3 separate regions of the Homo sapiens genome follow, and regions 2 and 3 are each linked to region 1. Evidence: promoter capture Hi-C in 16 types of primary human blood cells and fetal thymus (Javierre and others, 2016). All regions are on one chromosome and are shown on one strand. Each heading gives the region's core, a stretch centred on a gene start or on the middle of the fragment in contact. The rest is flanking DNA. Distances are from core to core; before and after follow the strand shown. Region 1 holds the start of ADI1 (acireductone dioxygenase 1). Region 2 overlaps LAPTM4A (lysosomal protein transmembrane 4 alpha). Region 3 overlaps WDR35 (WD repeat domain 35).

Region 1 (4,202 bases), core at 565-3,064:
TACAGGCGTGAGCCACAGTGCCTGGCATCTGGCTCCTATTTTTAAAAGGTCACTCTGGGTGCTGTGCATAGAATGGATTGCACTGGGGCAAAAATGGAAGCGGTGTGAGGAGGGGGAATTTCAGTAGTCAATTCCATCAGGCAAGAAAAGACTGCAGAAAGAGTTGGGCTGGAGAGAAGTGAATGGATTTGCGGTGTGTTTCGAAGGTCAAAGCAACATGACTTGCTGATAGATTGGATTGGATCTTGAGGGTGAGGAAAAGCAAAACTGAGAGTACACCTAGATTTTTTTATTAAGCCACTGGGCAGTCAGTGCTGCCGTTCACTGAGACGGGAAAGGTTAGGGAGAAGCATGTTTGGGGGTGTGTGTGGGGAATCAGTTGTTTTGGCCATGTTAGGTTTGACACACTGATTAGCCATGTATGTGACAACACCAACTGGATACTCAAGCCTGAGGTTCTGGAATGAGGTCCAGGTTGGAGATGTGGCTGCAGGAGCCGGCAGCACAGCATGGAAAGTCGCCTGGAGTGAGTGGATAGGAACAGGACGAGGAGAGTCTGGAACGCTCCACTAACCAGTGGTTAGAGGAGCAGGAGCTAGGAGGGGCCTGGGAAGGAGCAGCCAAGATGCCCTCATGAAGGAAAATGAGAAAATGTTTCAAGAAGGGCGTGGGCAACTGTGACGAATGTTGCTGGTAAGAACAGAAGTGCCATGATTGGATCTGGCAATATGGCAGTCATTAGCAGTTCCCCAGTGGTGAGAAGCGAAGCCTTATTGCAGTGGCTTAAGGAGAAAATGCGAGGTGCGAGATTGCCATTAGATTCTTGCATGAAGGTTTGTCATGAGTGCTGCAGAAAAATGGGCAATGGCGTCTAAGGTGTGTTCTTGAAGGATGAGTAGTAACTGGTCAAGTGAAGAGGTGGAGAGGTAGGCTCTCTAAGGAGGATGTATTTGCAAAGCCATTAGAGCAAGGGAACAGAAATGAAATAAGTGTGTATTTTTCTTGCAATATTTCTGGAAGTTCAAGAGTCAATTGCATGCATTGGGGTTGTGCTCTTACAGCAGTCTCATTTAAATCCTGTCTGCTTTATCGTTATTTGTTAAAGAGACTGAGGGAATGGCTGAGATAATCTGATCTTTTTCAACTCGTTGGTTTGAAAAGACATCTAGGATGGTCAAGCGGCTGGACTTTATTAGCTACATTGAAAAATTCAGAATGGGATAGGGGAAGCTTGTTTTTATTCTAAGACTAGCACATTACAGTGTATGGGGAAGGGAGAAACGATGAAAAGAGGAAACAAGAGGAAGTTTAAAAAGTACAGGGTAGCACTGCAGAATGCCGACACTGCAAAAGTCTGGCGAGCGGGGAGGTGGAGGACAATGTCTCACCTGGGATCCGAGCTGTGAAGTCTCAACTGTGCCCATATGGACTGCATGAGCTTAACAAAATCCTTATTCTTTTTTTTTTTTTTTTGCATTTGCTTTCCATACTCTAAACACGTTTAACGTCGTTTGCCTCACAAGATTGCTCTGAAGGTGCAGGGAGACCGCGGCAGCACACACAAGGCACGTGCGATGCCTACGGTGAGCTTCACCTGCCCGGCGCGTCTGGCGAACGGCTGGCCCCGGGCCGCGGGCCTCAGGCAGGTCCGAGGGTGCCCAGGACAGGGTCGGGGCTTGAATGCCTTTGCTTCCGAAAACAGCGGAGCCGTGGGGCCTCCCCCGCGCCGGCCCTGCCTCCAACCAGCCGCCCAATCCCGGCTCCCATGCGCGTCCACGCCTCCCTATAAGATAAAGCGCGGCCGACGGGCTCCGAGCGCGGCCCCTGGGTTCGAACACGGCACCCGCACTGCGCGTCATGGTGCAGGCCTGGTATATGGACGACGCCCCGGGCGACCCGCGGCAACCCCACCGCCCCGACCCCGGCCGCCCAGTGGGCCTGGAGCAGCTGCGGCGGCTCGGGGTGCTCTACTGGAAGGTACGCGAGCCCAAGCCTCGCAGAGCGTGCGGGCGACGCCGACCCCCAAACGCCGCGCACAGCCCAGCCTCCTCCAGGTGCCGGGCAGCGGCCTGGGAGCCGCGGCATGCTGCGCATGCTCAGCAGCGGGATTTGGGGGTTCGTGGCGGCTCCCGGTGCCTGGGGTGGGCTGCGCATGCTCAGCAGTGGGGCTGGGTGGTCAGGGCCTCCTGCGCGGCGCCTGGGTGTGCTGCGCATGCTCAGCAGCGGCGTTGAGGGGTCGGCGGTCAGCCCCCAGCGCCTGTGGTGTGCTGCGCATGCTCAGCAGCGAAGTTTACGGGGTTGGCGGTCGGCTTCCGGCGCCTGGGGTGGGCTGCGCATGCTCAGCAGCGGGGCTGGTGGGGGTCGGCGGTCCGTTTCTGTTGCCTGGGGTGTGCTGCGCATGCTCAGCAGCAGAGTTGGCGAGTCAGGGGCCTCGCAGCCGGGACTCGCTGCGCACGCGCAGCTCCGGGATTGGCAGCGACCTGAAGGGTCGGCCGGCAGGGCTGCAAGATTCGCCGGAGGCGGGCTGCGAGTTCGTGGGCTCGTTGGGCTTGTCCGACGCCCTGCCTGCCTGGCTAACCTCGGTCAAAGGCCCAGGGGTTTCTTCTATCGGAGGAAGGGGGACTCCGCTTGAAAGTGTCCTGGGGGAGGGACCGGGCGCCAGCAGATCGAGGCGGGGTCCTGCCGCGGTCTGTCGGGGATCCCCGGGGGGTAGCGCTCGGTGGTGGGGTGGGGGCGTCTCCAGTGGGCGGTGGAGCTGGCTTGGGTCCCGGCTGGGCCCGGTGTCAGCCCTGCCTCTGTAACGCTAGCTTTGCAAGGCGGGGCTAGGCTTTGCACCGGTGTCCCGTTGCTTGCACAGCACCAGTCCAGATCCGCTCACCTTGTTTATTTGCAAATGGTTTTGCAGTAACAAAGGTTTACTGCAAAAGAGAGGGCCAGGGTAGGCCTCAGGGATAGGCTGAGGGGTGACTGGATCTAATCTTCATTCATGTGATTTAAATGAAATACACAGGGTTACCTGGACACCACACTTTTTCCCTTGGGAAAGGATTATAGAATATTCCAGCATAATCTATTTGGATATCATCTTGTTCTATCCTAAATAACAGAAGAGGGAAGTGACAATTGGCATACCAGTGCGAAACAGGGCATGCATGTTAATGTTTACATAGTATTTGTCTTTTCCTAGGATAAGGTTTAACACTTACCTTGCTGGAGGGTACTTCTTCAAAGCAATCAAGTGGTTTATAGTTTTCCATTAATGAGAGGAGAATAAATTTTGACTTATTATGTTTATCCACAATCCAAACAACCAGAGGGTTCAAATTAATACACTTGGGGAGTTTCATTGTGCATTTGACGGTTTTAAGAACAAGAACAAGAGTGAGATTACAGGTCAGCTTCTTAATGTATTCAAAGAATAAAATAAGATTTATTTTAATAGACATCTTTTAGATTATTACATGGGCTCAAACATAGTTTTTCCTACCGTCTAGTTCTGCTCTGAGTCAGGGCTATCAAAATTAAATCATGTTTACTCTGTGGTTTTAATGTCCTGTGTGTTTTTATATTCTTCCTTTCTTTTTTTTTTTTGCTCTTTTTGCCCAGGCTGGAGTGCAGTGGCATGATCTCGGCTCACCGCAACCTCATCTTCCCGAGTTCAAGCCATTCTCATGTGTCAGCCTCCCGAGTAGCTGGGATTACAAGGTGCACAGCACCATGCCGGGCTAATTTTGTATTTTTAGTAGAGACAGGGTTTCTCCATGTTGGTCAGGCTGATCTTGAACTGCTGACCTCAGGTGATCCACCCACTTCGGCCTCCCAAAGTGCTGGCATTATAGACACGAACCACCGCACCCGGCCTATATGCTTTCTTAATATCCATTCTGGATCAGTGCTGTTGGAAGACAAAATTACAACAAATTTAGTTAAAGATCTAATTAGCTTTTATTCTTGATTTGTGAATAGGGCAACCTCCGTTCTACAAAATAGAATAAGAGCTCGATAGGGTAATAGCACAACAGTGGGTTTTGTAGGGCGGCAACAAAGAAACAGAACAATAGGTAGAAAAGCTGATTGGTTAACGTCAAGTTACATTAGGTTACTTTTTTCCTAAGGGTTAAAGCAGAAGCGACTTCCTTATTATTCTGACTCAGGAAGACTGGAATCTTCTGATCGCAGGAAAAGCTGGTCTGTTTGAGATG
Region 2 (4,202 bases), core at 1,064-3,563, about 17 Mb before region 1:
TATGTTTCTTTTTACATTACGTGGGACAGACTTCTGAGATGATGATTCCCCCTGTGTCATTTGGAACTTGGGGGAGCCCCTCTCCCTCGCTATCAGTGACTGTATCTGATACAGTCTCATTGCTTTCTAGCCACGGCTTCTACTGGTCTAGTGTTAAAGTATCGTAACACCATATACTAAAATATTCATTGTATGGTACAAAATAGTGCTGTGGGACATAGAGAAAGCCAGAACCAGTTATTATATGCACCGGAGGTACCAGCCCTGAAGTGTGAGCCTTTCGTATTTTAGCTAGAAAAGAAGCATACCTGGTTAAGTAACAGGAAATTTCAGAATGAGCTCATGTTTAAATTCTGGCATTCCTGAAATGGTTTTCTCTATCATTTATTGAAGAATTTGAAGCCAGTTGATTTTAAACAAGTTTCTTATGAGGTATAAACTCAAATGTTTATTGAATAATTGAAAATGGACTTAAAAGTGTGCTGTAGTAGATATACTTTGTGATTAATGGTGTGCACTACAAGACTACATTTTGAGCATTTGTAATAATTTTATCTCTTAGACTTAATATATGGCTAATTTTTCATGAGTGTCTCAACCATAAACAGTTTGAAGTTCTGTATCTGGGAGAGAAGTAAAAACAGGTTTCCTTAAGCTCTATTCCTTTCTAGCCCTCACCTCTGACTTCAAGTAAGCATAGCTTGTTTATATTTGTTAGTTTCCTTCCTTAAACTAAGGAAGTTTTGTGCCTCTGCCTTTGCATATGCTATTCCTTCTCCCTGAAATGTTGCTGTCCTCCCAAGTCACTTTCTAAAAATTTTATTAAGGAAATTTTCATACATACAAAAGTAGTGAAGTAGTACGAAAACCTCCCATTTATTCATCACCCAGCTTCAACCATTAACAACATTTTGCCAAGTCCAGATAATTTAATGGTTAGCTCACATGTTTTCGTGGTAAAACTTTCCTTTTTTTTTTTTTTTGAGACGGAGTCTCGCTCTGTCGCCCAGGCCGGACTGCGGACCGCAGTGGCGCAATCTCGGCTCACTGCAAGCTCCGCTTCCCGGGTTCACGCCATTCTCCTGCCTCAGCCTCCCGAGTAGCTGGGACTACAGGCGCCCGCCACCGCGCCCGGCTAATTTTTTGTATTTTTAGTAGAGACGGGGTTTCACCTTGTTAGCCAGGATGGTCTCGATCTCCTGACCTCATGATCCACCCGCCTCGGCCTCCCAAAGTGCTGGGATTACAGGCGTGAGCCACCGCGCCCGGCCTTTTTTTTTTTTTTTCTTTTTTGAGACAGAGTCTTGCTCTGTCACCAGGCTGGAGTGCAGTGGTGCGATCTCGGCTCACTGCAACCTCCGCCTCCCAGGTTCAAGCGATTCCTCTGCCCCAGCCTCCCAAATAGCTGGGACTACAGGCACCCGCCACCATGTCGGGCTAATTTTTTGTATTTTAGTAGAGACGGGGTTTCACCGTGTTGGCCGGGATTGTCTCGATCTCCTGACCTCATGATCTGCCTGCCTTGGCCTCCCAAAGTGCTGGGATTACAGGCGTGAGCTACCATGCCCAGCCAAGCTTTCTTTACTTCCTAGCCAGGGGGATCTGTTTTTCTCACGGTGCACCTGCAAAAGTTTCTGGATCCTTCTTGTATGTACTTATTAAATAGTACTCAGTACACATTGGTAGGATTGTCCTTTTCTCTTATTTTTCTCTCTACAGCAAGATGTTCTCCTGGAGGGAAGAGGGTGATGTCTTTATAAGGGCAGTGGCTCACGCCTGTAATCCCAGCATTTTGGGAGGCCAAGGCAGGTGGATTGCCCAGGAGTTCGAGACCAGCCTGAGCAACATGACGAAACCCCCTCTCTACCAAAAAAAAATATATATTATATTATATATATATTTATATATTATATTATATATATATTTATATAATATATATTTATATATAGATATATAATATATAAATATATATAAAACATATAAAAATATATATACACACACACATACATACATATATATATTAGCGGGGCATGGTGTGGTGGTGCATGCCTGTAGTCCCAGCTACAGGGGAGGCTGAAGTGGGAGGATCACTTGAGCCGGGGAGGCAGAGGTTGCAGTGAGCCTAGATCGCAGTAACTACTCTCCATCCTGGGTGACAGAATGAGACCCTGTCTCAAAATAAAATGTGTGTGATGGCTAACTTATTAATTAAAACATTTGAGGTGTTCATTACACATTTGTTGAATGAATGTCTCCTCCAAAAAATATTGTGAATACTCAGTTGTATCTGCATGTAACAGTAAACAACAACAAAAAACTTTTTTTTTTTAAATTATACTGTAAGTTCTAGGGTACATGTCCACAGCGTGCAGGTTTGTTGCATAGGTATACATGTGCCATGTTGGTTTGCTGCACCCATCAACTCATCATTTACATTAGTTATTTCTCCTAATGCTATCCCTCCCCCAGCCCGCCACCCGCTGACAGGCCCTGGTGTAGGTGTGTGATGTTCCCCACCCTGTGTCCAAGTGTTCTCATTGTTCAGTTCCCACCTATGAGTGAGAACATGCGGTGTTTGGTTTTCTGTCCTTGTAATAGTTTGCTGAGAATGATGGTTTCCAGCTTCATCCATGTCCCTGCAAAGGACATGAACTAATCCTTTTTTATGGCTAAAAAACGTTTTAAAGATAGTCAATTTTGATCTTTATCAGATAACAGGCTTTGCTTAGTTCTGTAGATTGACCCTCCTGTGGGTGCTTTCTCTGCATGGGAAGCCCTTATCTGGATGCCTCCTTAAACCAGACACACTGTTTTAATTATTATCTCAGTAGATACTGGCTCTGGGCAAATTACTGTGGGAAAACTGAAAAATGATTTTTTTTTTAAAGTCTCCAGAGAATCTTCTGGAATAGGTGTGGCAGTGAAAGAAGAAAACAAAGAATTCCTCTCTTCAGGCCCTGTGCTTCCATGGATCTGATACAGTTATTTTGTAACAAGTCAAATCTAACAGATTTCTTATTGTACACACTTACATAAGATGTAGAAGCTTTCAAAAACAATGCACACCACCTGATTTGACTGATTAAATTTACAGTACTGTTAACACATTGAGTGGTGAATCCGCAGCCCATGCTGCTAAAATATTGCTGCATTCTATACCTCTCCATATTGCCAAGTTTAGAAGTTAATAATTTAATCTTTTTTTTTTTTTTTTAAAGAGATGGGGTCTTGCTATGTTGCCTGTGCTGGTGTGCAATGGCATGATTATAGCACACTGCAGCCTTGAACTGGGCTCAAACAATCCTCCCACCTCAGGCACCTGACCAGCTGGGACTACAGGCACACACCACTGTCCCCAGCTTAATCATTCTTTTTAAATTACATTTTTATTAACTTTCTTTCCTGAATACAGTGAAAGGAAAAAGTGAATCAGGAATAAATATTTGTAATAGTTAGTACATAGTTGGATATTTTCAGAGAAATTTTGTATTGTAAGATTACAGTTAATTTTATGTATTTTTTGAAAAGCTAAACATGTAATTTAGAAATATCAACTTTAATCAGAGATAAGTTGCCAGGGCTTACATGTGAGCACAAGGTAGGCGTTCGTTGGTGAATATCTTTAAGATCAAAGGATGCCAGGAGCGGTGGCTCGTGCCTGTCATCCTAGCACTTTAGGAGGCCAATGCAGTAGGATCACTTGAGGCCAGGAGTTCAAGACCAGACTGGACAACATAGTGAGACTCCATCTCTACAAAAAAAATTTTTTTAAGTCACAAGGATGGGTTTTCCAGTGTAATACTTTAAGATGTAAGTTGGGGTTCTAATGAAATGATGTGATCTAATGGAATATAATTAACTCAAAGAAGATTTGGAAAAAGCTTTTAATGAAGTAGCATTGAAATTTATTTCACTGTTTCTTGGTCCTTCTGATTGGCCCTACGATTTATTTTGTTTAATATTTAGTGGTATGACCCACAGTGAAATTAAACTTGAAGTGTCTCTAGTACTAAAAGAAGATAATAGTGGATGAGCGTGTGACTTATCCATGGAAGAGAAGAAAAGTGAAGAGTTCTTTTGTTTTTTAAGAGACAGACTTAGTATTGTTGCCTAGGCTGGTCTCCAGAGCTCAGGCGATCCTTCCCACCTCAGCCTCCCAAGTAGCTGGGACTATAGGTGTGAGATTTTTAGAAATCCTTCAT
Region 3 (4,202 bases), core at 1,037-3,536, about 16 Mb before region 1:
AAGCAAAACTGACCATAAAAAACAATTACCTGGTGAGAAGTTGCATAAACAGAATTAGGTAGTATATTGAAGACAGCATCATTAAACAGTTATGTTGTTCTCCTTGCAAAAAACATGTACTGACTTCCCGTTGAGTAATGCCAAGTTGTTTTTTTTATTATAAAACTTGCCCTTCATTACATGTTTCAAAGTGGTGTGGTGGGCCAAAATATTGAAATGATGGAACTGACTGATAAAGCTGTACAAATAAGCAGTGTGCCTAACAAGCAACACAGTAATGTTGACATGCTTAATTCACAAATGCTAATTTCATTATAAATTGTTTTGCTAAAATACACTTTGAAACTATTTTTCTGTATTCCAAGAGCTGAGATCTTAGATTTTATGTAGTATTAAGTGAAAAAATACGAAAATAATAAACATTGAAGAAAAAAATAACTTGTGTTTATTCCACGTTTTCTTTATCTATAACTTACGGAGAACACGGTGTTTGCTGTGTCTTCATTTAAGTATTCTGATGGGGGTTGGTTAGGAGGGTATTGGGCTCCAGAGTGGAGAAGGGGAAAAGGGAGCAGGAGGTACAATAGATATACAATACCACTTTTGCTACCAAACAAGGGGGGAAAAACCCCAACAACCTTCCAGAGGCACTAGGCAAATGTCAGATATTGGAGGTTGCTGTGAGCTACTCCTTAATGGTCATGCTGAGTTCTCATTTAGGAACGAAGGAAATTATGTCCTACTAGACCTATAAGAGAAAATAAAGAATACTACATTTGATAATGTAGCTCCAAGATTTTCTACTCAGTTTCAAAATGAAAATAGGAATATTGTATTGCCTCTACTGTCTATTTTAAAGACCATTTTCTCAATTCATTTTTTTCTCTAAGAAACTAATATTTACTGGTTTTTTTTTTTTTGAATATAAAAAGCAGGCCAGGCGCAGTGGCTCACGCCTATAATCCCAGCACTTTGGGAGGCTGAGGCGGGCGGATCACGACGTCAGGAGATTGAGACCATCCTGGCTAACGTGGTGAAACCCCGTCTCTACTAAAAATACAAAAAATTAGCTGGGCGTGGTGGCGGACGCCTGTAGTCCCAGCTACTTGGGAGGCTGAGGCAGGAGAATGGCATGAACCCGGGAGGCAGAGCTTGCAGTGAGCCAAGATAGTGCCACTGCACTCCAGCCTGGGCGACAGAGCAAGACTCCGTCTCAAAAAATAATAATAATTAAAAAAAAAAGCAAAAATGTTCATGGCAGAAATTTTCAAAAATACATAACGGTATAGATGAGAAAGTAAAATTAGTTGATCTTTATAAATAAAATATTTTAGTTGAATGTAAGAGATGAAAAAAACTGAAGTGACACTGAAGGAATTTGTATAATTGGTTTCTTCGTACCAAAATCAGTATTTGTTCTTAAGAGATTTCTTTAAAATTAAAAGAAAGTAGACATTAAAAGGCTTTGGGAAGCCAAGGCAGGCGGATCACAAGGTCGGGAGTTTGAGACCAGCCTGGCCAATATGGTGAAACCCTGTCTCTACTAAAAATACTAAAATTAGGCAGGCATGGTGGCGGGTTCCTGTAGCCCCAGCTACCTGGGAGGCTGAGGCGGGAGAATCGCTTGAACCTGGGAGGCGGAGGTTGCAGTGAGCCAAGATTGTGCCACTACACTCCAGCCTGGGTGACAAAGCAAGACTCTGTCTAAACAAAAAAACAAAACAAAATTATTTAGCTAATTTATTGTTTGGCAGTTTAAATTTCTAGGTAGTAAAATTGAGAGAGATTTAGAAAAAATGAGATGCTTCTACACACTACAATGGCTAAAATTGACAAGAGAAATAGTGAGGGTATAGAACAGCTGAAACCCTCATACATTGCTGATGGAAATGCAAAACAGTACACTCACTTGGGAAAAGTTTGGAAGTTTCTTCTAAATTTAAATATACACTTAACATAGAACCCAGAAATCTCACTCTTAGGAATTTACCCAGAAGAAATCAAAACACATTTACAGGAAGACTTGAATGCAAATGTACGTAAGTTTTATTTATAGTAGACAGAAACTGGAAAGAAACCAAATATCCATTAATATGTGAATGTATAAACAAATTGTGGACTATCCACACAATGAAATACTACTCAGCAATAAAAAGGAATGAACTGACACAAGTAACAACATAGATGAATCTTAAAAGCATTGTGCTACGTGCAAGAAGCCAGATATAGAAGACAGCATACTGTATGATGTTATTTATATGAAATTCCAGAAAAGACAAAATCATAGAAAGTAGTGCCTGAGATCAGGGAGAAGGGTAGGTGATTGACTTCAAAGGTATACAAAGGAGCATTGTGGGATGATAGAAATGTTCCATATCTTGGTTTTGGTGATGATTACATGACTCCACATTTGTTAAAACTCATCAAATTGCCCATTTAACATTGGTAGTTTTATTTTTTTAATAAGAGATTTCTATTTTAGTTGAATTTAACAGAAGAAAAAGAAACTGAGGTGAGACTGAATAAATTGCTGTATTATGTCTTTATGCTGAGAGATATCAGCTCCTAAGAGATTTCTCTAAAGTTAAAAGAAATTAATGTCAATGATACCTCCAGCTGATTGAAGTCCACCCTTTCCACACTGATGTGCAATTATATGGGAAAAAAATCAAGTCCATATATGTAGGTAACAATTTCTGATTTCTTTTTCTGTTCCATTGATCTGTTTGTCTTTCTTTGGCCCAAAGCAGAATGTCTCAGTTATTATAGTTTTTAAAATAGGTCCTGCTATCTGGTACAAGTCCTCCTTTGTTTTTCTTCTTCAAAAATGTTTTGTCACTCTCAGTCCTTTGCACTTCTTTTCTACATATACAACTATATAACCATGTTTAATGACTGCTTTTTTTAAAAAAAATACTTCTCAATTGTCATGTCTTTCATTTCTTTTTATCATCTTATTGCACTGGCTAGGATACCCAATACAATGCTGAATAATTAAAGTGATGATACTGGGCATTCTTGTCTTATTCTTAATCTCAAAGGAAATTTTTCAATATTTTAAGAAATCATTGCTTATTATATTTTCTGTAGACATTTTGTCGGTAGGTTTTAATAAGTATGTCTTCTTGTCCTAGTTTGCTAAGGAGTTGAATTTTATTAACTGCATTTTCTACATCTGTTGAGATTTTTCTTCAATTTGTTGATGTGGTGAGTTAAGTACTACAAGCAAGAATACTTGATAATGCTAAAAACTGCTATTCACAGTGACAATGTAACATGTAAGAGTATCTGTAGACATAGATATAACACCTAATATCTATGCTCGTAGCAACCACCTTTATAAAGCAGAAACTGCAGTGGATGCAACAAAATCAATAGAAATACAGTAATAATGACTTCAATGCAATGTTGTTGCAACGATCTTTTTACAGAAAACACACTTGCCACTTGATTTTTCCATATTTTTTATGTGATGAAATAGACATAGCACAAAATTTACTATCTTAATCATTTTTAAATTTTTTTTAAATTTTTTACAAGACGTGGTCTAGCTCTGTCACCCAGGCTGGAGTGCAGTGGCACAATCATAGCTCACTGCAGCCTCAAACTCCTTAGCACAGTAATCCTCCCACCTCAGCTTCCCAAAGTGCTGGCATTACAGGCATGAGATCCTGCACCTTGCCTATCTTAATCATTTTTAAGTGTACAGTTAAAGTGGCATTAACTATATTTATTAAGTACATTCATATTGTTCATATTCCACCACCACCACCACCACCACCACCACCACCACCACCACCACCACCACCATCCATCTTCAGAATTCTTTATCTTGCAAAACTGAAACTGTATGCTCATTGAACAATAACTCCCTATCCCCCTTAAAGCTGTCCCTGGCAACCACATTCTACTTTCTGTCTCTATGAATTTGACTACTCTGGGTACCTCATAAAAATAGAATCATTCAGTCTTTTTGTGGCTGGCTTAATTCACTTCATGTAATGTCCTCAAGTTTCATCCATGTTGTAGCACGTGGCAGAATTTGTTCTTTTTAAGACTGAATAATATTCCATTGTATGAGTATACCATATTTCGCTTATCCACTCATCTGTTGATAGACACTTGGATTGCTTCCACATTTTACCTAGTGTGAACAATACCGCTATGAACCTGGATGTGTAAATATCTCTTTAAGACCATGC

What was found. Contacts are between HindIII fragments. The CHiCAGO score rates a contact against its expected background, and 5 or more counts as called.
Region 2: a fragment that was not itself captured here is called in contact with the fragment with the promoter of ADI1 in region 1 in 1 of 17 cell types (non-activated CD4 T cells); the score reaches 7.8 in non-activated CD4 T cells.
Region 3: a contact is called between a fragment that was not itself captured here and the fragment with the promoter of ADI1 in region 1, in 1 of 17 cell types (total B cells). The highest score is 8.2, in total B cells.

The regions. Positions count from the first base shown.
Region 1 is chr2:3,517,143-3,521,344 of GRCh38, reverse strand. It overlaps ADI1 (acireductone dioxygenase 1), which reads left to right and starts at 1,814. Exons shown (of 4, transcript NM_018269.4): 1 at 1,814-1,977. The coding sequence starts at 1,858. LOC124907725 (a long non-coding RNA gene) reads right to left here and starts at 1,799. Exons shown (of 2, transcript XR_007086195.1): 1 at 1,389-1,799. RefSeq lists enhancers at 1,106-1,626, 1,627-2,148 and silencers at 1,568-1,697, 1,768-2,087, 2,168-2,227, 2,708-2,907. The HindIII fragment of the contact is 6,500 bases long and covers 1,233-4,202 here.
Region 2 is chr2:20,044,478-20,048,679 of GRCh38, reverse strand. The region is part of intron 1 of LAPTM4A (lysosomal protein transmembrane 4 alpha); the gene reads left to right. Among named protein-coding and RNA genes, the nearest start is that of LAPTM4A, 5.0 kb to the left of the region's middle. The HindIII fragment of the contact is 1,471 bases long and covers 1,578-3,048 here.
Region 3 is chr2:19,906,496-19,910,697 of GRCh38, reverse strand. It overlaps WDR35 (WD repeat domain 35), which reads left to right. Exons shown (of 27, transcript NM_020779.4): 27 at 1-435. Among named protein-coding and RNA genes, the nearest start is that of TTC32, 6.6 kb to the right of the region's middle. The HindIII fragment of the contact is 4,962 bases long and covers 1-4,202 here.